5 separate regions of the Homo sapiens genome follow, and regions 2, 3, 4 and 5 are each linked to region 1. Evidence: promoter capture Hi-C in 16 types of primary human blood cells and fetal thymus (Javierre and others, 2016). All regions are on one chromosome and are shown on one strand. The core of a region is centred on a gene start or on the middle of the fragment in contact, and the rest is flanking DNA. Distances in the headings are between cores, read along the strand shown. Region 1 holds the start of DTX1 (deltex E3 ubiquitin ligase 1). Region 2 overlaps TPCN1 (two pore segment channel 1). Region 3 overlaps TPCN1 (two pore segment channel 1). Region 4 holds the start of TPCN1 (two pore segment channel 1). Region 5 overlaps DRC10 (dynein regulatory complex subunit 10).

The links. Contacts are between HindIII fragments. The CHiCAGO score rates a contact against its expected background, and 5 or more counts as called.
Region 2: a fragment that was not itself captured here is called in contact with the fragment with the promoter of DTX1 in region 1 in 1 of 17 cell types (non-activated CD4 T cells); the score reaches 6.4 in non-activated CD4 T cells.
Region 3: a contact is called between a fragment that was not itself captured here and the fragment with the promoter of DTX1 in region 1, in 7 of 17 cell types (naive B cells, total B cells, activated CD4 T cells and 4 more). The highest score is 9.2, in naive B cells.
Region 4: a contact is called between the fragment with the promoter of TPCN1 here and the fragment with the promoter of DTX1 in region 1, in 1 of 17 cell types (naive CD4 T cells). The highest score is 6.1, in naive CD4 T cells.
Region 5: a contact is called between a fragment that was not itself captured here and the fragment with the promoter of DTX1 in region 1, in 4 of 17 cell types (naive B cells, naive CD4 T cells, naive CD8 T cells and 1 more). The highest score is 5.9, in naive B cells.

The regions. Positions count from the first base shown.
Region 1 is chr12:113,053,283-113,059,069 of GRCh38, forward strand. DTX1 (deltex E3 ubiquitin ligase 1) reads left to right here and starts at 3,448. Exons shown (of 10, transcript NM_004416.3): 1 at 3,448-3,662; 2 at 4,167-5,169. The coding sequence starts at 4,911. It also overlaps the pseudogene RPS15AP32. RefSeq lists an enhancer at 4,686-5,474. The HindIII fragment of the contact is 5,893 bases long and covers 2,951-5,787 here.
Region 2 is chr12:113,254,226-113,260,012 of GRCh38, forward strand. The region is part of intron 2 of TPCN1 (two pore segment channel 1); the gene reads left to right. Among named protein-coding and RNA genes, the nearest start is that of MIR6762, 34 kb to the right of the region's middle. RefSeq lists an enhancer at 2,546-2,715. The HindIII fragment of the contact is 7,288 bases long and covers 1-5,787 here.
Region 3 is chr12:113,236,160-113,241,946 of GRCh38, forward strand. All of the region lies in intron 2 of TPCN1 (two pore segment channel 1), which reads left to right. Among named protein-coding and RNA genes, the nearest start is that of TPCN1, 18 kb to the left of the region's middle. The HindIII fragment of the contact is 2,975 bases long and covers 646-3,620 here.
Region 4 is chr12:113,219,208-113,224,994 of GRCh38, forward strand. TPCN1 (two pore segment channel 1) reads left to right here and starts at 2,257. Exons shown (of 28, transcript NM_017901.6): 1 at 2,257-2,419. It overlaps DRC10 (dynein regulatory complex subunit 10), which reads right to left and starts at 1,887. Exons shown (of 5, transcript NM_001330452.2): 1 at 1,790-1,887. RefSeq lists enhancers at 1,486-1,635, 4,966-5,135 and a silencer at 3,957-4,251. The HindIII fragment of the contact is 6,265 bases long and covers 1-3,124 here.
Region 5 is chr12:113,194,614-113,200,400 of GRCh38, forward strand. It overlaps DRC10 (dynein regulatory complex subunit 10), which reads right to left. Exons shown (of 5, transcript NM_001330452.2): 4 at 2,928-2,999; 5 at 833-1,276. The coding sequence ends at 962. Among named protein-coding and RNA genes, the nearest start is that of RITA1, 12 kb to the left of the region's middle. The HindIII fragment of the contact is 4,086 bases long and covers 1-3,293 here.

The DNA.
Region 1 (5,787 bases), core at 2,198-4,697:
CCATGCTGCTGGTGTCAGCTCTCTATCTCAGCACGTAGCCCAGTGCCTGGCACATAGGAGGGCATCTGGTATTTTTTGGATGAATGGATGGATGGATGGATGGATGAATAAGTGGATAAGAGGAAGGAAGGGGCCGGGTGCGGTGACTCATGCCTGTAATCCCAGCACTTCGGGAGGCCAAGGCAGGTGGATCATGAGGTCAGGAGATCAAGACCATCCTGGCCAACATGGTGAAACCCCATCTCTACTAAAAATATAAAAATTAGCTGGGCGTGGTGGCACGTGCCTCTAATTGCAGCTACTTGGGAGGCTGAGGCAGGAGAATCACTTGAACCAGGGAGTCAGAGGTTTCAGTGAGCTGAGATTGCGCCACTGTGCTCCAGCCTGGTGACAGAGCAAGATTCCATCTTAAAAAAATAAAAATAAAAAGAGGAAGGAAGGAAGGAAGGGAGAGATGGAGGAAGGGAAGCAAGGAAGGTGGGAAATTTCATACATGAATGTATAGATGAATGGATGAATAAATGGATAGATGGATTGATGGATGGATGATGGGTGGGTGGGTGTATGGATGAATGGATGATGGATGAGTGGGTGGATGGGTGAATGACTGGATGGATGGGTGGGTGGGTGGGTGGGTGGGTGGATGGATGGGTGGAATGGATGGATGGAGGATGGGTGGATAGATGAATGGATAGACGGGTGGATGGATAAGTGGATGGTGGATGGCAGAACAAAAAAAATGAGTTGGTCTCTTTCTGCCATCTTTCTGAGCTGCTATAATGGTGCATGTGAACGTCCTGGCCAGTGTTCTCAATAGCATCAACATGCTGAGAAGAGAAGCAAATACCAGGTTGTTTTAGGTTGTGTTCCAAAATCATCATCTAGTTTCTAAGTGTGATGATGAAGTTTAGTTTACATCAGTGAATTTGCAATCATCAATAATCACAGAGCTAGAAAAATCACTGTGGACCTCACAGGCAGGTTAAACAAGTGTACAGTGACAAGCCCCAGTTTGATGTGCAACTCAAAGATCTAGAAAAATGGTACCCCTATCCCCTTTGGTTTCATTGTCCTGACAACCTCAGCTGGTATCAGGGATTGCAAGGAAGCAAGACAAAAATACACAGGAGGGAAAATCCTGGGATTGTTTTTCTAGGGATGTAATAAATTCATATGAATAAAATGCCTCAATGGACCAAAAAAAAAAAAACAGTTCATGATTGATTGCTTTTGCTTTTGTCCTATTGACTTCCCCATTGGTATCTGAGCCATCCCTCCCATGAATTGTGGGCTCCTTGGTGGCCAAATTCCTTCCCTCTCCTTGGAATTCTTTTCTCCCCAAGTTCCCTGGGAGCAGAGTGTTGCATTCCCAGATGTTCCAAACCCAGTTGAGAGGGGCCATTAAGGGCCACTCTGCACCAGATCCTCAGCTGGGTGCCATCCAGTAGTCACTCAACAAACACAGAGGCAGCATGGTGCTATGGGAGGTGCAAAAGCATTTGGGACTCAGACCCTAGCTCTGCCACTTACTCCTTGTGGGAACTTGGGTAAGCTACTTAGCCTTTCTGAGCTTCAGGAGGTTTTTTGTTTCCTTGTGTAAAATGAGGACAACATTACCTTCCTTGTGGGGCAGTTATGAAGAGTAGTAAGTATTATTTAAGTGCCTGGCACATAATAGGCACTCAGTAAATGACACCCTTATGTAATGGGGCACCAGCCACACCACACCAAGATGAATATGATGGCTATCTCACTCTAGCAGGGACAGATTTCATTTAAGAGGCTAATTGTGATACAGGGTGTCATGTCAAGGTATGGGCAAAGGAACACAGAGGAAGATGGGGTGAATTCAGGAAAGGCTTCCTGGAGGAGGTGACATTTAATCAGACCTTAAATAGCATTCGACAGGAAGTCCAGAGACACGAGTTCTTCTTTCCAATTTGCTGCTAAATCACCATGCGACCTTGAGCCAATCTCTTCTCCACTGTGGGATCCCCAGATCCTTCTACAACATAAGCTGGTTGAGCACCTGCTCTGAATCCGTTCAGTCACAGTCTCCTGTGAGAAGAATCTGCTGACAGCCAGAGCCCTTCTTCCCAGACATACAAGACACACAATGCCTAGACACACAAGTTTGCCTGTAATGGGAGAGGGGGACTTCATGGACCCCAGAAGGCCATCCAGGGACCCTAGGCTAAAATCCCAGAACTCAGTGATCCTGTGGGAGTATCGTCAGACTTGGCCCTGCCCTATGCAAAGCCTCTCTCTTTAGTCTACAGCAGGTGAAAGCAAGCAGAATCATTGACCCAATCTGAAAAAGCCCATCCAACACTGGGCTGCAGGTCAGAGCAGGGGCCTGGGGAGGGGAGGTCCCTCCAGCTGGCCGGAGAGCCAGAGCTGGATTCTGGGAAAGCACCCCTGAGCAGCCTGCCCCTGACCCTGCCTAGTGTATCCCCATCTGCCCCGGGGAGGCAGGCGTGGGCTGCTCTGGGCAGGCGCCCAAACAGGCCACTGACCCCCGTCAGCCACCCAGGCTGGAGTTCCCGGACGCATCCTTCATCTTCCCCAATCTAAACACCCCCAGGCCCCAGGTGGTCCACCCCCCTCCCAGCCAATGTGTGTCTCAGCCGCATCCAGCTTGCTGGAGGACAGGGGGACTGGCCATCCCGTTAACACTTGAGCCGCTGCCATTTCCAGCCTTCCCTTCCATCCAACCAATGCTCACCCACCATTTATTGAGCACCAGTTGTTTGCAGGTGGCTGTGAATGACATGGCAGAGGGCCTGCCCTTCTCTTCCTCCAGGATCTCACCTCCTGGCCAGGGTCCCCTCCCCTGGTCCCACCCCTCTCACCTGGAGCAGGTGGGTGCTTTGGGGGAAGTGGGCTCAGGGCTGGGAACTGGGTACTGGCAGGAGATTCAGATCGGGGTTGGTGTCTGGGCATCGCTCTAAGCTTTTGTGATCCTGGGCCTGGCTCTTACTCTCTCTGGCTTCAGTCTCCTCATCTGTACTCTTCAGATTCCACGGTTCCAACTGAGTCTGAATCAGGCCTTGTCAGCACCCTCCCACCCCCAGGAATAGTTAGAGGAGGAAAGGAGGCTAGCTCTGAATGCTTCAAGATCTTTCTTTAGACAGTCTCTGGATCTTATTCATTCATTCAAGCATTTATTGAGCACCTATTCAGTGCCAGGCCCTGGACTGGGAGACTGGAAATAAAGATGACAAAGATTCAAGCCGGTGACTCCTAAACATCCCACTCCCTGCCTCACGCTCTGCTTGGGGTCAGAAGGCCCCTTGGGGTCTCGGGAGGGCCTGGCCGAGGATTTGGGGCGCCCCGAGACTCGCGTGTCAGCGCCGGTGGCGCTCAGGGCCGAGATCTGTCTCCTCCCCTTCCTCCTCCTCCGCCCCCTCCCCTCTCCCTCCCGGAGCACGGCCGAGGCCTCCTCCCACCCGCGAGATCCCGGCGGCCGCCAGCCGGCTCCTGCGTCCGTCCGTCGGCCGGGCAGTCTGTCCACGCGCGGAAAGCTCGGCGCGGCGGCCGAGGGGCCTGGGAGGGAACGGGCGCGGAGGCGGGACCGCGGCTCCCTCCCACTCCGGGGGGAGCCCAGGAGGCGGCGGTGCTGGAGCGCGAGCCGGAGCCGGAGCCGGAGACGAAGAGAGGCGGTGAGAACGCGGGTGCTTAGGGACCCCACCCCCGGCTCCCGCTGGGGGCCCGCGAGCGGCTCGGGGACGTCTGGGCTGGGGAAGCGGGGCTGTTACCCCCAGGGCGGGAGGCAGAGACGATCCAGCTCCTGGCTTCGCCCCCTCCGCGACGCGACCCCCGAGGGGCCCTGGGCCGCGCCTGCAGCGCCGCGCATCCCCGTGCTTCCCGGCGCACCCCAGCGCACCCGGCATCCCCCCGGCAGGGCGAGGGCCCCGGGGGAAGGGAAGGCTCCGGGAGCCAAGGAGGGCGCCCCCCAGGCGGAGAGTCTCGGAAAACCGCGCCCCCGGCCCCTGCCTTCCCTCCAGGCCTGCCCCAAGGGAAAGCGGGCGGGGCGACCCCGTACGCCCCCCTTGCTGTCCCCCTTCGGTTCCCCATTGTTCTCAGCCGAATGCTCTCCTGGGAAGGGGGGAGGGGGTGCTGCGCTCTCCTCTTAAAGGGCCCTCTCCCCTCTTGTCTCCTGGCAGGTCGCGAGCACGAGTGGGGTGGGGCGTGCCCACGGGCCCCCGCCCCCCTCGTCCCCCTCGTCCCCCAGCCCAGCTCCGGAGCCGCAGTCCAGGCGCGCCGCCCGAGGGTCCACGCCGCACCCCTCCCCCGTGCGTTCTGCGGCCACCCAGGCCTTCCAGGACACCGTGGAGAGGGAACAAGGGGGCAGGGACGCCCCCTTCGGCAGGAGCCGTCGGAGAAGGGGGCCCAGACCGGAGGGAGGCGAGAAGCCCCACTGAAGCCGGGCGCAGGGTCTGGGACGCAGTTGGGAGTGCAAAGGGCTGGCTGAGAGCCGCAGGAGCAGCAGGCTGTGGCCCAGGCCTCCTGGGTGACAGGCCCTGTCTGGCGGGGAAGAGGGACCAAGAGACAACACGGAAGAGGCTGGACCTCGAACAGGGGCGGCTGCCTCACTCCCTACCTGAGCCAGCCGAGGGGGCCAAGGACTTTAGAGCTGTTTCCTCCGGCATAAGAGAGACACTTGCTTTCCAGGGCAGCACCCTTTATCGGAGAAGGCTCTACAGGGAAGGGGTCTTTGCAGCCTGGATGGCCATCCCACATTCCTTTAACGGAGGTCTCTAGGCCTCAGAGAGAACCCAGAGTTAGAAAGGAGGCCAGACGGTCCTTGCTGTCCCCCTGGGGAGAGAGGAAGTTGCCGCCTGCTGCCAGGCCCAGGAGGAGCTGGGCCTGCAATAGTGGGGGACCTGGCCCCTGAGGCAGTGGCGGCCATGTCACGGCCAGGCCACGGTGGGCTGATGCCTGTGAATGGTCTGGGCTTCCCACCGCAGAACGTGGCCCGGGTGGTGGTGTGGGAGTGGCTGAATGAGCACAGCCGCTGGCGGCCCTACACGGCCACCGTGTGCCACCACATTGAGAACGTGCTGAAGGAGGACGCTCGCGGTTCCGTGGTCCTGGGGCAGGTGGACGCCCAGCTTGTGCCCTACATCATCGACCTGCAGTCCATGCACCAGTTTCGCCAGGACACAGGTGAGCAGACACCCACCCCATGCCACCCGCCCCGCCGAGCCATCACTACCTTGCAGCGTAGGATGCTGAAAATCCCAGTAAATCTGCTGATGCCAAATCCCTTCCCCATCTCCCTGCCTCACCTCCAGAAAAACAGGGCAGTCTAACCTTGTCCAGTTTAAGACTTGGATTCCAATGCAGCCTCTGAGCAAGCTGTAGGGCCTTGAGCAAGTTGCATCATCTCTCTGAGCCTCAGTTTCCTCATCTGCAAAATGGGTAGATCAATATCTCTCACAGCTGAGTGAGGATTAAATAAAATTGTGCTCACTGAGCACAGAACCTAGAACAGCAGTAGCATGGGATTGTAGAATAAGGGCTTTACATGCACTTCCTCATTTGATTTTTCCCAAGAATCACAGGCAGTAAGTCTGTGTATTGTTGTATTATTATGAGTCCCATTTTATAGATGAAGAAACCGAGTCTCCCAGAAGCTGAGTGATTTAAACTCAGAGCTGGGATTTAAACCCAGGCGGTTGAGTTCCAGAACCAAAGTTCTTAACTGGTATCCTATACTGGCTCCAAGTGTTGGTTTGTGGGGTGGAGTCGTGCTGGTGGTAATTAATTGGGGATGGGGGGCGT
Region 2 (5,787 bases), core at 2,291-4,790, 200 kb after region 1:
CTTTCCTGGTGAACGGTATACATTAGGGAAGAAATAATACCAATTTGACACAAATTCTTCCAGAAAATTGAAAAGGAGGAAATATTTTCTAGCCCATTTTATGAGGCCAGCATTACCTTGATACCCAAACCAGCAAAGACCTCACAAGGAAAGAAACCTCGGACCAACATTCTACACGGATGTAGATGCAAAAAATTTAAACAATTTTGCAAATGCAATAATATATAAAAAGGATAATACATCATGACTAGGGGGACTTAGCTCAGGAATGCAGGGTTGGTTTAATGTTCAAAAATCAATCATTGTAATTCACTATATTAACCAAAGGAAAAAGAAAAACCATATACAGGTTGAATATCCCTTATCCAAAATGCTTGGGTCCAGAAGTATTTCCGATTTTTAATTTTTTTCAGATTTTGGAGTATTTGCGTTATACTTACTGGTTGAGTATTTCTAACCTGAATATCCAGAATGCTCCAGTGAACGTTTTCTTTGAGTGTCATGTTGGTGCTCAAAAAGTTTGGAATTTTGGAGCATTTGGATTTCAGATTTTCGGATTAGGGATTCTCAAGCTGAAATCATCTCGAAGTAGACACAGAAAGTGTTTGACAAAATGCAACACCCATTCATGGTAAGATCTCACAACAAACTAGGCACAGAAAGGAATTTCCTCAGACTGATAAAGGATATCTACGAGAAACTTCTAGCTTACATCATACTGAGTGGTGAAAAACTGAATGCTTTTCCCCTAAGATCAGGAATGAGACAAAGATATCCCTTCTCATCATTTTTATTCAGTATTGTAAGGGAGCTTCTAAACAGTGCCATAAGGCAAGAAAAACGAAAGGCATCTGGATTAGAAAGGAAGAAATAAAACTGTCCTTATTCTCAGACAACATGATCTTCTGTATAGAAACGCCCATGACATATTTACAAAAGAGGCCACTAGACCTTTTAAGTGAGTTTATCAAGGTTGCAGGCTAGAAGGCCAACATATAAAAATCAGCTGTATTTCTGTATCCTAACAACAAACAATTGGAAATTGAGATTAAAAGGCAACTTCATTTGCAACAGCATCGGAAATATAAAAGACTTAGTGATAAATCTAAGAAAAGATGTGTCAGGTCTGTATACTGAAAGCTGTAAAATATTACTAAGAAAATTTAAAAAGATCAAAATAAACTGACAGATATACCATATTCATGGGTTTTTAAGAGTCTCCCCAATAGATCTGACATAATTTCAATCAAATCCCAGCAGACTTTTTTTTTTAAGTAGAAATTGACTAATTATTATTATTAATTAATTTTTTTTTTTTGAGACAGAGTCTCAGTCTGTAAGCCAAGCTGGAGTGCAGTGGCGCAATCTCAGCTCACCGCAACCTCCACCTCCTGGGCTCAAGTGAGTCTCATGCCTCAGCCTCCTGAGTAGCTGGGACTACAGGCGCATGCCACCATGCCCGGCTAATTTTTTGTATTTTAGTAGAGACGGGCGGGGTTTCACTATGTTGCCCAGGGTGGTCTCGAACTCCTAAGCTCAGGTGATCCACCTGCCTTGGCCTCCCTAAGTGCTAGGATTACAGGCATGAGCCACTGTGCCTGGCCTGTTATTATTATTGAGACAGGATCTTGCTCTGTCACCCAGGCTGGAGTGCAGTAGCTATGATCATAGCTCACTCTAGCCTTGACCTCTCAAGCTCAAGCCATCCTCCCACCTCAGCCTCCTGAGTAGCTGGGACTACAGGTGCAAGCCACCATGCCCAGCTATTTTTTATACTTTTTGTTATGAGGTCATAGTATGTTACCCAGACTGGTCTTCAACTCCTGACCTGAAGCGATCCATCCACCTCAGCCTCCCAAAGTGCTGGGATTATAGGCACATGCCACTGTGCTTGCCTAATTTTTTTACTTAAAAAAAATTTTTTTTTTGTAGAGATAGGGTCTCACTATATTCCCCAGGCTAGGTTTCTATTGATTGATTGATTGATTGGACTCTTGGATTAGGGACAAAGAAATTGACTAATTCTAAAGTTCATATGGAAGTTCAAATTTTTTTACTTTTTAAATTTTTTTTTTTTGTAGAGGTAGGGTCTCACTATATTCCCCAGGCTGGGTATGCATGTATGTATGTATTTATTTATTTGGACTCCTGGATTAGGGACAAAGAAATTGACTAATTCTAAAGTTTATATGGAAGTTCAGAAGAACTGGGCTAGCCAAAACAACTTTGAAAAAAATATGAACAAAGTTGGAGGATTAACACTGCCTGATTTTAAGACTTATAAAGCCTCAGTAACCAAGACATCGAGGTATTGATGTGAAATCTTTGTTTTTATTTTTCTTTTTTAAAGACAGTGTCTTTCTGTGTTGTCCAGGCTGGCTTGAACTACTGGGCTAAGGTGATCCTCTCACCTCAGCCTCCTAGGCACTGGGACTACAGGCTTACACCACTGTGCCTTGATGTGGAATCTTTTTTATTTTAATTTTTTTGTAGAGACAAGATCTCACTGCGTTGCCCAGGTTAATCTTGAACTCTTGGGCTCAAGTGATCCTCCCCACCTTAGCCTGATGTGAAATCTTTATGACCAGGGGTTAGGCAAAGATTTCTTAGATATGATATCAAAAGTATTAATCCATAAAAAGAATAAATGGATAAGTTGGCCTTCATCAAAATTTGTAAAACTTCTGTTTTAGTGACCTTTGAAAGGCACTGTTAGAAAAGAATGAGAAGACAAACCACAAATGGGAAAATATTTGCAAATCATCATGTATCTGATAGACTTGTATCCAGAGTGTATAAAAGAGCTCTCAATTTAATAATAAAAAAAAAGAAAAAGGTGAAAGATCTGGACACTTCAAAGAAGATAGATGGTAAATAAACATATGGAAAGTTGTGCAACATTATTGTTAGGAAAATGCAAATTTCAAGCATGAACATGAAAAACAATGATATACCACTACCCATCTTTTGAAATGCTTAAAGTTGGCCAGGCGCAGCAGCCCATGCCTGTGATCCCAACACTTTGGGAGGCCGAGGCGGGCAGATCACCTGAGGTTCGGAATTCAAGGCCAGCCTGGCCAACATGGTGAAACGTCTCTACTAAAAATATTTAAAAATTAGCCAGGCATGGTGGTGCGTGCCTGTAATCCCAGCTACTCAGGAGGCTGAGGCAGGAGGATCACTTGAACCCAGGAAGTGGAGGTTTTAGTGAGCTGAGATGGCACCACTGCACTCCAGCCTGGGCGACAGAGTGAGACCGTCTCAAAAAAAAAAAAAAATGCTTAAAAAGAGCGAGCATATCAACAGTTGGTGGAGATGTGGAGGAACTGGAACTCTCATATACTGCTAGTGAGAATGTAAAATGGTACAATCATTTTGGAAAACAGTTTGGCAGTTTTGTAAAAAGTTAAACATGTGATCTAGCTATTTCACCTCTAGCTTTACCAAAAGAAACAAAAAGTGTACATCCACACAAAGCCCTGAATGAATGTTCATAGCAACTTTGAAATAACCCAAAACTAGAAACAATCTTAGCTGTTCATCAACAGGTGAATGGATAAACTGTGGTATATTTATTACTCAGCAAAGAAACAGAATGAACTGTTGGTACACAGTGCAATGTGGATGAGTTTTTAAATAATTATTCTGAGTGAAAGAATCCAAGCAAAAAAAAAGACTACATACTGTATTATTCCATTTATATAATACATCATGTAAATATATATATTATATGTAATAATAGATGCAGATTCATCTAATAGTAACAGAATGCAGCTCAGTGGTTGCCTGGGCATGGATGGGCAAGGAGGCACGGGAGGGTTATGGATATGTTATCTTGATTGTTGTGATGATTTTACAGATATGCACGTAGGTCAAAATGTATCAAACTGTATTCTTAAAATATATACTGTTTATTGTGGCACAACTTAGCGAAACTGTTTTTAAAAATGGGTAGGGTTGGCCAGGCACGATGGCTCACATCTATAATCCCAGAACTTTGGGAGGCCCAGGCGGGTGGATCACTTGAGGTCAGGAGTTTAAGACCAACCTGGCCAACATGCTAAACCCTGTCTCTACTAAAAATACAAAAATTAGCTGGGCATGGTGTTAGGCACCTGTAATCCCAGCTGCTCGGGAGGCTGAGGTGGGAGAATCACTTGAACCTCGGAAGCAGAGGTTACAGTGAGCTGAGATCACGCCATTGCATTCCAGCCTGGGTGACAGAGTGAGACTCCATCTCAAAAAAAGGAAGAAAGAAAAAACAAGGGTGGAGTGGCTGGGCACAGTGGCCCACACCTGTAATCTCAACACTTTGGGAGGCCAAGGCAGAAGAATTGCTTGATTCCAGGAGTTCGAGACCAGCCTGGGCAACAAAGGGAGACTCCACCTCTATAAAAATACAAAAATTAGCCAGGCGTGATGGTGCATGCCTGTAGTCCTAGCTGCTCAGGAGGCTGAAGTAGGAGGATCTCTTGAACTCAAGAGTTTAAGACTGCAATGAGCCATGCTTGTGCCGCTGTACTCCATTCTGGGTGACAGAGTGAGATCTTGTGTCTTAAAAAAAGCAGGGAGCTGGGGAAGTAAGTTGCATGTGGCTGGACCTCATTGCTCATGACTGGCAATTCAAGATCAGAAGGACCTTTTGCAACCCAGCAGGCCTTTGAGCCCTGTCAGTCTCCTGTCCCTTGCATGGTTGTAAGCCTTACACATTTGCTTTCTGCCAACTGTGCAAATCCCAGTATCAAAACATTAGATTTTTTTTTTTTTTTTTGAGACGGAGTCTTGCTCTGTCCCCCAGGCTAGAGTAGTGATGCGATTTTGGCTCACTGCAACCTCCGCCTCCCAGGTTCAAGTGATTCTCATGCCTCAGCCTCCTGAGTAGCTGGGATTACAGGCACCTTCCACCACGCCTGGCTACTTTTTGTATTTTTAGTAGAGTTGAGGTTTTGTCATGTTGGCCATGCTGGTCTTGAACTCCTGATCTCAGGTGATCCGTCCACCTTGGCCTCCCAAAGTGCTGGGATTACAGGCGTGAGCCACCGTGCTCAGCCCAAAACATTAGATTCTTTATCTTCCTTCGGGTGGATCATTTACAATGCAGATTTACAGATTTCTCTCAGATTCACTTCTTCCCAATGAATGCGTCATTTCTTGGTGCCGTTGTTTACTGTGTGTAAACTACTGAATTTCAGGATTATTGTGACAAACCCAACTCAGACTCAATGGGATCTGTTTATCAGCTTGGATTTTGGAAATTAAGGGGTAGATTTCAGGCACAGCTGGATTCCAGAGGTGCAGCTGGTGTTAGTGTTATCTATTGGTTATTGTTTTGTTGTCTGCTGACTTCCTTCTCAGGCAAGTTTTCCCCATGTGGTGGCAGAGGCAGCCGCCAGCAACAACAGGGAAAGAGCCCCTCCTTCCTAATTGGCCTGGGAACAGTTTCAAGTTCAGCTGTCACTGGCTGGACTTGGGTCAGCAGCTATGCCTGAATGCCCAAGGGAGATGAGGGGCTTATTGCCAGGCCCAGGTCACCTGCCTGGGAACCAGGGGTGGAGTTGGCCAGAGCCAAACAATGTGGACAGAGAGCAAGGAGGGGATGTTCTACAGAGACAGATGGCCCAGTGTTGCTGGGAGAGGAGGGCGTGGCTGTCAGCAGGGAAGAGCAACAGATGGCCCTGCACCAGGGGACAAATCCAGTTGTTTTTAATTTTTAACTAAGTAGGATATTAATATGCTTCCAAAAGTCAAAGGATTCAAAAAGGGTCTGTCTACCCTATTCCTTATAGC
Region 3 (5,787 bases), core at 883-3,382, 180 kb after region 1:
AAGAGCAGTTGGCAATGATGGCAAGACCGGGCAGTGTGGAGGTGGCCCAGGGACACGGGGTGCCTACTGTGTTTTGCCTGAACTGTGTTTTAAGAGGCTGCATAACCAAGCAGTTGCTGTGCACGTACAGCTTGGCATCTGAGTCTCCCACCCCCCGGCACCCCATGTTTGTTACCTGCCTGGTGCCTGTAGGCATTTGAGTTTGTAGCCCCTGGTTGAATTCTGACGGTACAGCCCTTTGGCTGGACACCATGCAGCTCAGCCAGGGGAGTAGCAGAAGATCAACTATGGACAGGTGTGACTTAGGAAGAGGTGGAGTTTGGGGTGCTGGGGAGAGGGACCGAACATCCCAGGGAGGGGAAATGGCATAGGCTGAAGTAAGGAGGGGGGTTGCAGTGAGTCGAGATTGTCACTGCACTCCAGCCTGCCTGGGTGACAGAGCAAGACCCTGTCTCAAAAAGAAAAAAAAAAAAAGAAGTAGGAACTCTTCTGAGACCCACACCCTGGACGGGGCCAGAGACTAGCATGCTGGGGGCAGATTGGATTTGGGTGTGGTTACATGCACTCTGGGGTCAGACCCACTGAGTTTGAATCCAGCCCTGACTTCTCCTGCTGGGACTTTGGGCAGATGATGTAACCTCTCTAAGCTTTGATTTCCTCATCCGTAAAATGACACTAATATTAGTATTACCTTTTAGGACTGTTCTGAGGTTTATACAAGATAGCATGCCTCACACAACTAGCACAGTGCCTGGCTTATACAGAATGAGCATTGGGTGGATGTCAGCCATTATAATTAGGGTCAGGGGTCAGAGCAGGCATATCTGTTTTACAGAGTGCCTAAAATGCTGATGGCAGGAGTTTGGACCTGGTTGAGTTGGGCATGGGAGCTGCTAAATGTGTTTGGGCCAGAAAGCAAGTGATGACAGAGCATCTTCCTGCTGACATCTTGCCAGCTCGGGATGCTGTCTCTAGCCAACTTGATAAGCCCTGAGCTTAGAAACCCTGGGGTGGGTCAGCCCTGAATAGGGGTTACTTTTCCCTCTGGAGATTGAGAGGTGGATGGAGAGGAAACTGCCAGGCTATTCTGCAGTAGTAGGAGCCGGATTTGGCATTTTTCTCTCTGTGTCTGTCTCCCTGACCAGTCACTGAACTTCCCCAGGTCCCAGAAGCTCAGCTCAGTAGCTCAGTTCCTACTTCTTTTTTTTTTTTCTTGAGTTAGAGTCTTGCTCTGTTGCCCAGGCTGCAGTGCAGTGGCACAGTCTCGGCTCACTGCAACCTCCGCCTTCCGGGTTCAAGCAATTCTAGTGCCCCAGCCTCCCCAGTAGCTGGGATTACAGGTGTGCACCACCGCACCCTGTTAATTTTTTTGTATTTTTAGTAGAGACGGGGTTTCACCACATTGGCCAGGCTGGTCTCAAACTCCTGACCTCAAGTGATCTGCCCACCTCGGCCTCCCAAGGTGCTGGGATTACAGGCGTGAGCCACCATGCCTGGCCAGTCCCTACTTCTTAAGAGGCACTCAGGAAGCATCTGGACAATGCTGAACAGATGAGGACTTTCATAGGCTCACCTGGCCTGGGGTCTGGCCCAGGAGGGTGCTCTTTGATGAGAAACATCCCAGCGGTATTGGGCATGGAGGAAGCAGCTAGTGAAAGAAAAGCAGAGCTGATGGGAGGAAGATGTTTGACTGTGCCCAGCCCTGCCACATATCTCCCACTTTGCCCTCCCTAATCCCACCACACCCAGCTCTTAGGATCAGAAAGTACGTTGAAGTTCCAGGGCCACTCTCCTGAATAAAAAGTGTGGCTTCTGTTTCCGGCAGATAAGTTCCTGCTTTGTTCCAGTGCACTGACACAGTCCCCTGAACAACCCATCTTGGGTTGATCAGGAAGTTCTTAGTCTGTTCAGATGGCAGCCTACCTCTCATTTTATCATCCTCCTTCACGATAAAGCCCTGATGTTCTGCCTTTCCCACTTAGTGGAGAAACCTATCCTCATAGCCACACTTCCGGTATTGAGGAATTGGCATCTTGGAATACAGCTTGGGTATTTGGATGACAAATTATTAAAAATATTCTGATCTCTTTGCCCACATATTTTAGCTGTAGAAGCAAGCAGAGAGCATCATGTTACTGCAGCAGCAGTGCCGCTTATTTTTTTTCCTTAAAAAACATGATTTAGGGGTCCTAGTTTTGGTGGCTTCCTGCTTCAGCAGCATTTGGAAGACTTGCAGATATGTCCTGTGAGTGCCACGTGGGTGTGACCCCTGCTCCTTGGCCTGGCAACAATCCAGTAGCTGTATATTAGAGTGTCCTTTTTGCTACCTTAAATGACCAAGTCTTCCCCAGAGCCATTCTTGCTATCTCTTGCTATCCACCTGCCTCGGCCTCCCAAAGTGCTGAGATTACAGGCATGAGCCACCACTCCTGGCCCTTCCTGTTTATTTAGCTGAAGGCCTTGAGAGCCTTCCCTAACCTTTGAGGATAGTGGTTGTGTTTCCACAGTCTCTCATTCTCCAGGTATGCTGTTTATACCTCTTTCTCTGCTCTTCACGGCACAGAGACCCACTCGCTCCCCAGCACCGGGATGTGATCGATTTGATGATTGAATCAGAGTTTGCTTTGTGCCATGATGGATTGTGAGAAAATGGAGTTTTGATGAATTAGGTAATTTAAAATACGGGTGGGAGCCAGGCGCAGTGGTTCACCCTGTAATCTTAGCACTTTGGGAGACCAAGGCGAGAGGATCACTTGAGGCCAGGAATTTGAGACCAGCTTGGACAACATAGTGAGACCCCATTTCTAAAAAGAAGTTAAAAAAAGTTAGCCAGGTGTGGTGGTGCACACCTGTAGTCTCAGCTCCTTGAGAGGCTGAGGCATGAGGATTGCTTGAGCCCAGGAGTCTGAGACTGCAGTGAGCCATGATCACACTACTGCACTCGAGCCTGGGCATAGAGTAAGACCCTGTCTCTAGAAATACATATATACATATATATTTCAAAATAAAATATAGGTGGGAGGGCTAAGTTTGGCAAAGAATCCTTTCGTAGTATGAATAATACCCATTCTGTTCATCCAGCATCAAGCAGGGTTTTGTGAATCCTGCTCCCCCCAGCTAGGGCTTACCTGGTTTGTGAGTTTCTTTCTTGTGTCTCCCTGATGCCTGTTTGAGATGACTGGGCAGGGCAGGGCAGGAAGGTAGAGGCCTAACCCAGTGTAATGCCTGGGTGTTAATGGCTGTTGTTTTAGGTGCTGATGTTTTACACAGCTGTGCCTCTTTCTGGTAGTACAAGTTTTGCAAAGGCAGGGATCATGTCTCTTCTACACATATTCTGGGCACAATAATAGACATAATAGAAGTTGCATATCTGGGAGTGAGTCACCGGTTTCCAAAAACATCCAGGGTCCCAGGTGACTGTCACAGCTAAACCAGCCCCTGGAGCCACTGGAGGGTGACAAGGAGACTCATTCACATGTGATCAGACCAGAAGTAGCCCAGCAGGGCATGGCGTTGCTGCCCCTAGGAACAGCCTACTTTTTGGATGTTTGGGTCTCTGCTTCCAGCTTCGAACTCCCCAGGAGCCCACACATGTCCAATCCCAACCTTCCTTCCATCTAAGCTTCCCCGTCGCCGCCCTACCATTTGTAGACTGCCTGTCTCTCTTTTTTATCTCTCTTTTTGTTAGATTGGGATTTTATTATTTTTTTTTCCTAATTCTTTCAGCACTTGCTGAAAACCAGCTTGGGCAGAGCGACCTGTGCTTAGTGCTGGCTAATGGCTTGGAGCTGCTCCAAGCTGCCGGCTGCGCTGCCTTTCACTTGTGGGTGGTCGTCGACAAGCATGATGTCTTCTCTCTGTGACTCTCGAGGGGCCTCTCTTCTTGCGGGCTCGGCTGTTCACACTTGGCTGGCCTGCCTGGTTGTTTGGAATTGCAGTTTTTACTGCACAGCCTCGAGCCAGTCTGGTAGCTTCAACAGGGCGCAGATTTTATGAGTGCTAAAGTCCACTCAGCCTCCAGCCTAGTTGGCCCATTTGATTTTGTTGCATGTTGTTTTTTGCTATTTCCTCTTGGAGACCAGACGCCGTCCAGAGTGTATGGGGACACAGAAGTCTATAAATGGAGGTGGCTTGGGAGATTCTTAGGCTGTGATGAATGTGTGTCTATTGAGGAGTGATGGTACCTGCTGGTGTCTACAACGGTTGAACATTTTCTGAGTGTCGCGCAGTCTGCAAAGGATGGGGTTGAATTTCTGGCATCGTCTCTTGATAGCTGAACATCCTTGAATGAGGAGCTGAGCTTGTTTTTTCCTAAGTTGCAGTTTCTTCATTGTAAAATCAGTATATGATTGTCTACAGTCAGAGTCTCAACCCATGAGTAGGTAATTGAAGGACTTTCTGCATTGAGGATGTGAACCTTTCCTCCGTTCTCACATTCTTCCGGTTCCTCTTAAGGGATGTGAGTTGGTAGTTTGCATTTTCTGAAGTGTTGTAGCAGTTGAGGGACAGTAGTTAACTTCCTTGACTACCATTCCTGTTGTGTTGCAGGGAGAATTAAAAATCAAGCAGCTCCATCTCCTGCCCATTCTTTTTTTTTTTTTTTTTTGGAGACAGAGTCTCACTCTTGCCCAGGCTGGAGTGCAGAGGCACAATTTCGGCTCACTGCAACCTCGGCTTCCCAGGTTCAAGTGATTCTCCTGCCTCAGCTTCCCGAGTAGCTGGGATTACAGGCATCTGCCATCATGCCTGGCTAATTTTTGTATTTTTGTAGAGATGGGGTTTCACCATGTTGGCCAGGCTGGTCTTGAACTTCTGACCTCAGGTGAACTGCTCACCTTGGTGAGCCTCCCTAAGTGCTGGGATAACAGGCATGAGCCACCGCTCCTGGCCACTCCTGCTCATTCTTTAGGGTGGCTTCTTGATTTCCATTGTATTTTCCTTTATTCACAATGCTCCTTTTGGGCTGCCTTCCCCACCAACAGAAAGGGAAACTGAAGCAAAAGGAAGGGAAGGCCGAAAGCAGTGCCTGGCCATTGACTGCATAGGAATTCAGGGCCCTGGAGAAGTGGCAGGCCTAGGCCATCAAGCTCTCTGTGGGATGTAGCTGTCCTCCAGCTGTCACTTCCCCAATGTGCCCATGCTTGCTTCATGGCCGCCTCACCTCTTGTTACTCTTCTTCTGAACAAAGCCACCTGCAGCAGCAGCAGCAGCAGATCCAGGTGCTGGGGCGTGGCCAGTGTTCATGGAAGCCGGGTCCAGCCAGCCCCCAGGTGTTTCTGGTTAAGGACTAGAGCGGACTTTTGATCTGTGCTGAGTGGATGCCATCAGCTGACACATCAGTAGCCTTCATGCAGCTTGAGTCTCAAGCCAAACTTGTTCTTCCGAGCACTGGCTTTCTGCTGACCTCTTGCAGGGGAACCAGAGCGCACCAGTGCACAGTGAAAAATGCCTTTAATCTCCATTTGCTCTTCTCCGGCTCCCTTCCTTGTCCCTGGGTGTTTCACAATTAGCATTTCAGATGCTTCCAAGTGAATATGGAACAGATGTTCGCACAGGTGCTGTACTCTTCACTGGGTAAACAGTGGCGTTTGCGTGCCTCTGCGTGTGTGTGTGTGTGTGTGTGTGTGTGTGTGTGCGTGTGTGTGTATGAGACAGCAGGAAGCATAGGGCCTTTACAAATGTTTTTTAAAGCGTCTAAAACACTTTACACATGACGGGTACTCAATAAATACTTTGTGAGTGAGTGAGCAGTGGCAGGGAAAGCCCTTTGTTTCATAATAAACCCAG
Region 4 (5,787 bases), core at 1,007-3,506, 160 kb after region 1:
GTATTTTTAGTAGAGACGGGGTTTTGCTATGTTGGCCAGGCTGGTCTCGAACTCCTGACCTCAGGTGATCCACCTGCCTGTGCCTCCTACAGTGCTGGGATTACAGGCACGAGCCACTGTGCCTGGCCTATGTTTAACTTTTTAAGAAACTGCCAACTATATTTCAGATTGGTGGTACCAATTGGTATTCTGCTGTACCTACCGGCAACATATGAAAGCTACAGTTTGTTTATTTATCTACATGATGATACTTGGTATTGTCTTTTTGATTTTTAAATGTCTACTCAACTCTTTTGCCCATTAAAAAAATTGAGTTGTCCTCTTATTGAGTTATAAGAGTTATTTTTATATTCTATATACAACTCTTTTATGACACATGATTTGCAAATATTTCCTCCATGTCTGTGTCTGTGGCTGATCTTTTCATTTTCTTATGAAAATATCTTTTGAACCTCAAAGTTTTTTTTTTATATATTTTTTTGAGACAGGGTTTTTCGCTCTGTCGCCCAGGCTGGAGTGCAGTAGTGCAATCATGGCTCACCGCAACCTCCGCCTCTTGCGATCAAGCAATTCTCCCACCTCAGCCTTATTTATTTATTTATTTATTTATTTATTTTTTGAGCTGGAGTCTCGCTCTATCACCCAGACTGGAGTGCAGTGGCACGATCTCGGCTCGCTGCAACCTCCACCACCCGGGTTCAAGAAATTCTCCCGCTCAGCCTCCTGAGTAGCTGGGATCACAGGCACACGCCACCAGGCCCGGCTAATTTTTGTATTTTTAGTAGAGACAGGGTTTCACCATGTTGGCCAGGCTAGTCGCAAACTCCTGGCCTCAGGTGATCTGCTGGCCCAGGTGATCTGCTGGCCTCGGCCTCCCAAAGTGCTGGGATTACAGGCTGAGCCACCGCGCCCGGCCCTTAGCCTCATTTAATCATCACAAGAAACTCTCTGTCTTCAGTAGGTACAATGAGATCACATCTTAAGGATGGAGATGGGAGTTAAATTCCAAAGTTAGGATAAAGGCAAAAGTGGTGTAATAAAAATTACCTAATTTATTTATTTATTTGAGACAGAGTCTTGCTCTGTTGCCCGGGCTGGAGTGCAATGGCGCTATCTTGGCTTACTGCAACCTAAGTCTCCCGGGTTCAAGTGATTCTCGTGCCTTAGCCTCCCGAGTAGTTGGGATTACAGGTGCGCCTCCATGCTCAGCTAATTTTTGTATTTTCAGTAGAGATGGGGTTTCACCATACTGGCTAGGCTGGCCTAGAACTCCTGACCTCAAGTGATCTGCCCGCCTCGGCCTCCCAAAGTGCTGGGATTACAGGCGTGAGCCACCATGCTCGGCAAAAACAACAACAACAACAACAAAACAAACAAACAAAACTACCTAATTTAAACACTGAAGTGAGATTGCCTGCTCACCGAGGAACGTATGGCCGTTGGGTGAAATGGGAGGGGACTTATAAACTCCCCTCCCACCCACAGCTCCCATGTTTGACTTGAAATAAGTTAACTACGATATGACTCTGCTTGACTGTTGTCCTCCTCGTTTTAGGGATGAGGGAGTGGAGCCATGAAGTGGGCAGGTAGAAGGGCAGAATGGAGGCCGGCTCCCTGCAGGTTGTGGAGCGAAAGGTCCAGACTAAGGCAGGAGCTGAGGGACAGGGTCCTGAAGCTGAGACGAGATCGCAGCGGGGGCTTCTAATTCCTCAGGGAGCCAAAGGACAGAGGGCTGAACCCTATTCCACATCTCCCCCGATCCGCGACCCTTTCCCAACTGGCTACTCACCTGCTCTGACCGCTCCAGGTTTCCCTAGCCACAGTTACCGCCGCGGTCCCTGCGTTGCTAGGTTACCCGCCAATCTCAGAAGGCGAGACTCGGTGTCTGACTGACCTTTCTTTTCACCATTCAATTTATTGTTCCGCTCAGTTGTCCCCACCTCCTGAAGTCTGACCAATCAGAAGCACCGCCATTTTGACCTTTCACCAATGGAAAGACTTGGGACTCCCTCTGGGTTGGACTCAACGAGTAAGGCGGGGAACAAGGGAGGAGTAAGGGGCGTGGATTCTTCGTCCCGCCCCTTCTTAAGGAGGCGGGCAGGGAGTACCGCATCGGCGGCGGGCGAGACCTGCGGAAGGACGTGATAGTTGGCCAATCAGAGTTCATCACGGTAGCCCAGTTAGCCAGTAGGACGCTGTGAAGGGGAAATGGGGCGGGGCCAGCGGGGTTGAGAGGACGGTAGGCGGTGGATAGGAGAGCTGGCGCAGCTGCCCTGGTGGCAGTGGCTGAAGTGGCGGCGGCTTCGGCGGCTGCGGCGGCTGCAACAGCTTCGGGCTCGGGGTTTTGGCGGCGGCGCCGGCGGGCTAGGCTGCGCGGTGCGGACCCCGGCGCGCGGTCCGGGTTGCTGGGGCGGCGCGTGTAAGAATCCGAGGGATGCGACGGCTTGGCCCGAGGGAGAGGGCAGGGATCAGGGGTCAGAGGACGCGGAGTAAGGGGTTGCGGCGCAGCACTCTGGTGTGGGAGGTGGGCCGTACGGGCCCAGAGGGGGCGCAGGGAAGTCTCCACCGCGCTTCTCTCCGTCCAGCCCGGGCCGGGGCTTTGCACCCTCTCTCCTCGCCCCCGACTTCTTAGGGCGACCCTCACGTGGGCTCCCAGCCAGGGGCTGGGAGCACGTGGAGCTGGAGCCAGCTGTCCTGCCTCCTTCTTCCTCCCTCCCTCGCTCTTCTCCCTGGCGCCCTTAGGTGACCCCACAGGAGTCTTGTGCCTGGGTCAGGCTGCCCCAGCGGACAGCGGGATGGTAGCTGAACCTCTTCCCCTAGGCCCTTTCCCCAGCGCTGGCCAGTTGGGTCCTCTGTAGAGGCAGAAGCAAAGCCCGCGGAGGGAACACTGGACCAGGACGCAGGAGTCCCGGGTTCTAGCCCTACTCCTCCACTGTGTGACCTTGGGCAAGTCTCTTCCCCTCTCTGGGCCTCATTTTTGTCTGTCTGGAAAAATGACGTGTTTGAATTCAAATCAGGGGACTGGTTCTAGTCGTAGGTGTATATAGGGTAATGGTTAAGCAGGCAGGGTCCCTGATTCAGACTGCCTGGGTTGAAACTTATAAAAGGCAAGTTAACCACTCCAAGCTTCAATTTCCTCATTCCTAAAGTGGGGATATTAGCTAAGATAGGATTTTTCAACAGCAGCTCAGTTGACATTTTGAGCCACATAATTCTGTTTCGGGAGGTCTCACCTGTGCATTGAAGCAAGTTCAGTGGCATACCTGGACTCCACCCACCAGCAATCCCCCCACTCCCAAGTTGTGACAGTCAAGATGTCTCCAGACATTGCCGATGTCCCCATGGGGGCAAAAATCACCCCAGTTGAAAGCCAGTGGGCAAAGGCAGTACAGGCAGGCAAGCAGTCATATATTAAACAGTTAAACAACCGTGTTGAAGCATTTGAATGCGAGGACTTTAATCTATGGTGGCAGATATCATGAAAATTATGCATGAACAACCCCCCTGCCTCTTTTTTTTTAGCTCATCATTAATGGTAGTGTATTTTATGTGTGGCCCAAGATAGTTCTTCCAGCGTGGCCCAGGGAAGCCAAAAGGTTGGACAGCCGTGAGTTAAAACATAGAAACCACTAGCCATTATGATAATGGTAACATTAAGAAACCTCTTCTCTGTGAGTTAATAAATTCTCCTGCCTTCAAAGTAAACATGGGAGATAATTGTCAAAGCTGAGTAATGGATACAAGGAAGTTCACGTATATATTCTCTGCACTTTTGAGAATGTTTGAAAATATCTGTGGTAAAAAGTTAAACCAAAACGACAATACAACCATAATTCTTAAGACTGCCAAATAGTAGTGTCTCATCTGGGATTTCCTCTTCTGCCTTTCCACTGCTGAGATTTAAAAGCAAAATAAATCCCCAGATCTGGAGGAAACTTAAGAAAAAAAAACTCACAGGAAGTGTGCTGGGCAGAGAGCTACGGGCTTAGCAGCAAGTAGAATGATGTTTACTTTCGCTGCCTTGTTTCAAAACGTTGTACTGTTCCCTGTGGATGCACAAGGATTTGCTTGGAGTTGTTCCAATGATTCGAGGAAGAAGTCAGTTGCTCAGCTGCCATTGACTAGGTCAGTTGGGAGGCAAAGTGGGTTGAGCCCAGAGCCCACAGCTTGAGGAAGGAACCTGCTGCTGTTTGCAAGTTCAAAGGTCTGCAGTCAGATCTGCTGAGTCTTTTTTTTTTTTTTTTTGGTTCTTCTCAGCGGAAACGGGAATGTGCATAAATAGGAGCTGTAACAGGCTAGCTCGGAGTGTTTTACTTATTTAGTTATTTTTAAATTTTTAGTTTATTTATTTTTTGAGATGGAGTCTCGCTCTGTCGCCCAGGCTGGAGTGTAGTGGCGTGATCTCAGTTCACTGCAACCTCTGCCTCCTGGGTTCAAGTGATTCTCCTGCTTCAGGCTCCCCAGTAGCTGGGATTACAGGCATGCACCACCACACCTGGCTAATTTTTGTATTTTTAGTAGAGACCAGGTTTCGCCATGTTGGCCAGGCTGGTCTCAAACTCCTGACCTCAAGCGATCCACCTGCCTCGGCCTCTCAAAATGTTGGGATTACAGGCATGAGCCACCACTCCCGGCTGCTCTGAGTGTTTTAAATTGGGAGTTAAGGATGAGCACTTTTACTGTATTAAAAAATACTCACCAGTTAAAAAAAAATACTCTTTTCCCCTTCCTCGGACACCTAAATCTAAGAGAACAACTCCTATATAAAAATGATATAAAAATCATACATTTTGGAAGTATGTTTCTAACTGTTCTGAGAGGCTGCATGGTAAAGCTGAAGTGAAAGATGTATTTTAAATCTGTATATATGAGCAAGTATATATTGATGATTGAAGCTAGGTGCTGCCTAAATACATGGCCCAGACTTTGAGGAATTATAGTGTAATGGCTGGGAATACAGGTTTGGAGTCACACCGTAGAGCTGAAAGCTTGGCTTTTATTTAGCTGTGGGTCCTTGGGCAGGATACGTAATCTGTCTGTGCCTGAAATACCCACCACACCCATCCTGTAATGGGGGGATAATAAGCCTGCCTATCTCATGGGGCTATTAAGAATTTTCAGTTAACTTTTACTTATGAAGTGCTAGTAGGGTCCCTCATACATAGTACGCACTCATTGAGTATTAACTATTATTATTATTACTATTTTGAGACGAGTCTCGCTCTGTCGCCCAGGCTGGAGTGCAGTGGTGCAATCTCGGCTCACTGCAAGCTCCGCCTCCCGGGTTCACGCCTTTCTCCTGCCTCAACCTCCTGAGCAGCTGGGACTACAGGCGTCTGCCACCACGCCCGGCTAATTTTTTGTATTTTTAGTAGAGACGGGGTTTCACCATGTTAGCCAGGATGGTCTTGATCTCCTGACCTCGTGATCCGCCCGCCTCGGCCTCCCAAAGTGCTGGGATTACAGGCATGAGCCACCGCGCCTGGCCGCATATTAACTATTATTTTAATGGTTGTATTTTTTTGTCATTTAATTTAATTAAATTAATTTATTTATTTATTTGAGGTGGAATCTGGCTCTGTCGCCCAGGCTGCAGTGCAGTGCACCATCTCGGCTCACTGCAACCTCTGCCTCCTGGGTTCAAGTGATTCTCCTGCCTCAGCCTACAGAGTAGCTGGGATTACAGGCGCAAGCCACCACACCCAGCTAATTTTTGTATCTTTAATAGAGGCGGGGTTTCTTCATTTTGGCCAGGCTGGTCTTGAACTCCTGAGCTCAAGTGATCCA
Region 5 (5,787 bases), core at 1-2,500, 140 kb after region 1:
AGGAGTTCAAGACCAGCCTGGGCAACATAGTGAGACCCTGTCTCTACCTACCCTTTTTTTTTTTTTTTTTTTTTTTTGAGACAGGGTCTTCCTGTGTCACTCAGGCTGGAGTGCAGTGGCACAATCTCAGCTCGCTGCAATCTCGACCCTCCCAGACTCCAGTGATCCTCCTACCTCAGCCTCCCAAGTAGCTGGGACTACTGCCGTGTGCCACCATGCCTGGCTAATTTTTTAATTTTTTGTAGAGACAAAAAATAAAACATGGGGTTTTGCCATGTTTCCCAAGCTGGTCTCAAACTCCTGAGCTCAAGTGATCTGCCTGCCTCAGCCTCCCAAAGTGCTGCGATTAGAGGTGTGAGTAACCACTCCTGGCCTAAAAATTTTTTACTTTAAAAAAAAAAAGTTGTTTTAAATAATTGTTCAGCTCCCTGGAATGTGAGGCTGAGGGCTGCTGTGACCTCAGGACTCCCTCTGAGCTTTCACAGTGCTAGAGCAGGGGAAGTTGCAAGCAAATTAATCCCAGAACAGGGTTAGGGGCAGCCTGAAACCTGAGGCCCCGCTCCTCCTGGAGTTCCCTGCCTGCTTCTTTGCCCCCTATGGGCAGCTGTGACCCACACCCCGCTGCCCTGGTGAGTGATGTGTCCATCATGGCCATGGCAGCTTCCGGGCTGCAGCTGGGGTCTGGTTTCCCACTAAGGCTGAAGTAAGGAACCATAATCTCTGGGCTGACACCCCAGGCTGCACGCTCCTCATGGAAACACCATCTGTGAGCTGGACACACACAGCCCACAGCCCTGGGTAAAGAGATTTATTCGTAGAGCGTTCCCTTCAATGTGGCTTCAAATACTTTTTAATTTATTAAATAAAAACATGAAAGCCGTGAATTTAGTGCTCTCCATCTCGGGCCTTCCTGGCCTGGTCTCTGGGAAGATAAGGGTCAGGAGCGGGCTGGGTGGAGAGCTCATTTCTTGCCCTTGCCCTTCTCCTTGCCTTTCTGCTTGCCCTTCTCCTTGTCCTTTGCTTTGCCCTTGCCCCGCTTCTTCTTGGATCTGAGCAGGGAGCGCACCAGATAGCCCTTCCATAGGGCCTGGATGAGCGTGGCCGCCCGTACCATGCGCACCATCTCCTGCTCTGCCTCCATCCTTTTCTTGGAGTTGATCTCCCGCTCTTCCCGGATCTGCGCAAACTCTCCCACCAGCACTTTGTGCCTCCGCCTGAGCTCCTCCAGCGAGATCTTCTCCTCCCTGTGAACAGCGTCCAGATCCTCCAACTCCTCCTGGGGTGAGGGGTGGGGCTGGGGTCACCACACATAGAGTGCCTCCTCCCACCCTCCTCCCTGAGGCCCCCTTACCCTTCCCAAATGGTCTTCTGCCCCAGCGATGCCCCTAAGCTAAGCTGTTCAGCATCTCTCGGTCCCAGTGACATGGATGGGGAGAGGGGATGGGCTCCATCCTAGCTCTAGGAAGGACCCAACTGAAATAATTTCAGGAACAGGAAAAGAACATGGGCTTGTGAGTTGGGCAGACTTAGTTTTAAGTCCCAGCTCTGCCACACCTCAACTGACTTCACCTTTCGGGCCTTCGTTTTTCCTCATCTGAAACATGGGGACGATTCCGAAGCCAGGGGCTGTTTCTAGGATTAAATGACCCGATGGACACAATGTACTGGACATGATGCCAGGCACACAGTGGGGACACAAGAAATGGAGGCTGCTGCCATGAAAGCAGTCTGTTCCACAAGACACCAGAGGAGAAGGAACTTTCTCAGGCCTCAAACGGAGTCCCAGAGTTCTTCCTTATGTCTAACCATAGCCTCTCCTGCTGTCATTTACACCCGTTTTCCTTCCTTCCACTGATGTTTTCCCAGCATCTACAAAAAGCAGAGCACTGCCAGAGGACACAGAGCTGGGTGGACAAAGTCCCTGCCCGCAACCAACCCACAACCCTCATGGGACCCAGAGAAATGAGAGCCCCCGCCTGCAAAGCTCCCCTCTCCAGGCCCTGATGGTTGCCCAGGACAAGGTTCTGACTTGCCCTTCTCTGAAGAGCACACCTGGCTTTGGCTCACTCCAGCGCATATTACCTCCAGTGCTCTCCAGTGCTCCCCAGTCCTCCCTGGCCCCTGGGTTGGAGCCATGGGCCACCAATGTTATCCCAGTGCTGGGTGAAGGGTTTGGGCGTGTCTCGATTTGAAGGTTACCACCCCCTGAGCACTTCCCTCCAGGCCAGACCCTGTGCTGGGCACACACACTTGCAGCCATGGTGTCTCACCGAATCCCCGCCATGGTCCCAAAATGGGAATTACTGCCTTTGCTAATCAGATGCAGAAACGGGCTTGGGAAGGTCAAGTACCTTGCTTAAGGCCACACAGCTGGCACATCTCAGGTGCTCAATAAAAACTGGCTGAGTGACTGAGTGATGCAGTGGAGGCAGGCTCCCATCTGAGTCTGTGGGAAGGAGCCCCACCTTGTAGGGGTGCTGGCAGGAGCCCATCCAGAGGAGTATGGGATGTGGACACTAGATGGAGCCATGATCATTAGGCCCAGTGTCAGAGTGTCAGGCCCTTCTAGCCAGTCGCTTTTTTTTTTTTTTTTTTTTTAAATTAATAGAGATGGAGTCTTGCTCTGTTGCCCAGGCCGGTCTTGAATTACTGAGCTCAAGCGATCCTCCCACCTCAGCCTCCCAACGTGCTGGGATTACAGGCATGAGCCACAGCACCTGGCCTTGCAGCTTCTGGCTCTTTTCTTTCCCACCTCTCACTCTGCCCCAGGCTGGACAAACCCTTTAAACAAAGGGAAGTGCTCCCTGCAGAGAGGCTCAGAAGTTTGCCCACTCCATGGACCATCCCAAGGCTACTTTTCCCATTCATCCCATTCCTAGAAGGTCTTGGGAAAAGCATGCGAGAGAGACTTATTCAGCGACAAATACCTGCTTCTCACCCATCTCTGTATCATATTTCTGGATCCAGTTCTCGATTTCCGTTTCCACTTTATATTTCTTCTAGAAAAGATCCAATTTGTCATTGTTTGATGGAATATATTAACAATCAACAGCACTGAGCACTCTCTGCATCACTAGGCTCTGGCAGGTGCTTGACATGCCTCGCCTATTGAACAAGGAGGTTCCCTTTTCTCCATTTCACAGGGGAGAGAACTGAGGCTCAGACATGCTATCTTACTTGCCCAAGGTGACAGAGCTAATGGGTGGCAGAGCCTGAATTTGATGCCAGCAGCCTGGTTCCAGGACATCCTAGGCAGAGAAAGCAGCAGGTGCAAAGGCCCTGAGGTAGGAACAAGCTTGTGCTGTTTAAAGGACAGAAATCAGCCTGGCGTGGTGGCTTACGCCTGTAATCCCAGCGCTTTGGGAGGCTGAGGCAGGCGGGTCACTTGAGGCCAGGAGTTTGAGACCAGCCTGGCCAACATGCCAAAACCCCATCTCTACTAAAGATACAAAAATTAGCCAGGCATGGTGATGCACACCTGTAATCTCAGCTACTCAGGAGGCTGAGGCAGGAGAATCACTTGAACCCAGGAGGCAGAGTTTGCAGTGAGCTGAGATCATGCCACCACACTCCAGCCTGGGTGACAGAGCAAGACTGTCTCAAAAAATAAAAATTAAAAAAAAAATTAAAGGACAGAAATCAAGCCAGTGTGACTGGAAGGGAGTGGCGAGGAGGAAAGTGGTCCCCAACAAGGTCCAAGGAAAAGGCTGTGTCACAGAGGGAGTGTCAGCAAGAGGAGGCTGTATTCTCAGGAAAGGGTGAGGTGAAGCCACTGGGTGATTTAGATGCAGTGGAGGGACATGATCTAATCTTGTTTTTAAAAGATTATTTCCACCATAAAAAGCAGTGAAGCACTGATCCATGCTACAACATGGGTGAACCTTGAAAACACAGTGCTAAGTAAAACATGCCAGACACAACGGCCACAGAAGATTCCATTCATATGAAGTGTCTAGAATAGGTGAATCCACAGAGACAGAAAGCACATTAGTGATTGCCAGGGACAGGGGGAATAAGGGAATGGGGAGTAACTTCTTAATGGATATGGAGTTTTATTTTGAGGTGATAATGTTTTGGAACTAGATAGAAGTGGTGGAAGTGGGGGTGGCACAACATCGTGAATATACTAAATGCCACTGAATTGCTCATTTTAAAATGGTTTTATGTTATGTAAGTTTCACCTAAATTAAAAATAAGCAGGCTGGGCCAGTGGCTCATCCCAACCATTTGGGAGGCCACGGTGGGAATGGGAGAATTGCTTGAGGCCACAAGTTCTAGATCAGCCTGGGCAACAGAGCAAAACCCTGTCTCCACAAAAAATGATACTTTTTTTTTTTCTTTTGAGATGGAGTTTCGCTCTGTCACCCAGGCTGGAGTGCAGTGGTGTGATCTCGGTTCACCGCAACCCCCGCCTCCTGAGTTCAAGCAATTCTCATGCCTCAGCCTCCCAAGTAGCTGGGATTACAGGTGCATGCCACCACGCCCGGCTAATTTTGTATTTTTAGTAGAGACAGGGTTTCACCACATTGGCCAGGCTGGTCTCGAACTCCTGACCTCAGGAGATCCGTCTGCCTCAGCCTCCCAAAGTGCTGGGATTACAGGCGTGAGCCACTGCTCCCAGCCAATAATAATAATTTGTAATTAGCCAGACGTGGTGACATGCCCCAGCGACCCATGAGGGCTGAGATGGGAGGATCACTTGAGCCCAGGAGTTGGAGGCTGAAGTGAGCTATGATCACGCCACTGCACTCTGGCATGGGTGACAGAGTGAGACCCTGTCTCAAACATAAATAAATAAATAAATAAATAAATAAACCCCCTAATCCTACAGAGCAAGAGCCCTTAGCTTGGGCACCATGGGTAGGCCGGCTTCAGGGGGACTGGGCTCCCCAGGGAACTGTCCACTAGGATGTGTAAGTGCATCTGTGCCTTCTTTCTGGGGGAGAGGCCCGTGGCTTCCATCAGATGCTCAAGAGTGTGACACTAAGAGACTGGAGACAAGTATTAAAAAGGGTGCCTTTTACAAGGAAAGAGATTTGGAAGTTGGGTGTGTGCTAGGCCTGGGTCTTGGCTGAGATGATGAAGGAGAAGGCAAATGAAGGTTTTGGGTTTTTTTTTTTAAGAGGCAAGGTTTCACTCTGTTGACCTGGCTGGAATGCAGTGGCACAGTTATAGTTCACTGCAGCCTCCAAACTCCTGGGCTAAAGTGATCCTCCTGCCTCAGCCTCCCAAGTAGCTGGGACTATAGGCACACATCACAGCGCCTGACTAATTTATCTTTTATTCTTTGTACAGACAGGGTCTTGCTGTTGCCCAGGCTGGAGTGCAGTGGTGCAATCACAGCTCACTGCAGCCTCCGCCTCCTGGGTTCAAGCGATCCTCCCACCTCAGCCTCCCAAAGTGTTGGGATTACAGGCATGAGCCACCTTACCCGGTCAGAAATGATATTTATTGAACACTTACTATGCACCAGCTCTCTCACTACCATCTCATGTAATTCTCATGTAACAACCATTAAGACCAATGTTAGCATTTTCATTTCTGAGGTGTGAAATCGGCAGCTGGGCAGGAGTTGAGTAATTAGCCTGAGCTTTACATGCTACTTCTTCATTCCTTTGCAGGGCACCCAGCCTCTGACGATGTGGGTATTATCCCTGTGGGGTCTCAGGAGTTGAGGAACTTGCCCAAGGTCACAAAGCTGGCATGCAGCAATGCTGGGACAGGATCCCAGTTTGTCCCCTGTCCCCAGGCCTGTGTGCTGCCCCTTCCTGCCTCCCAGGAGACACT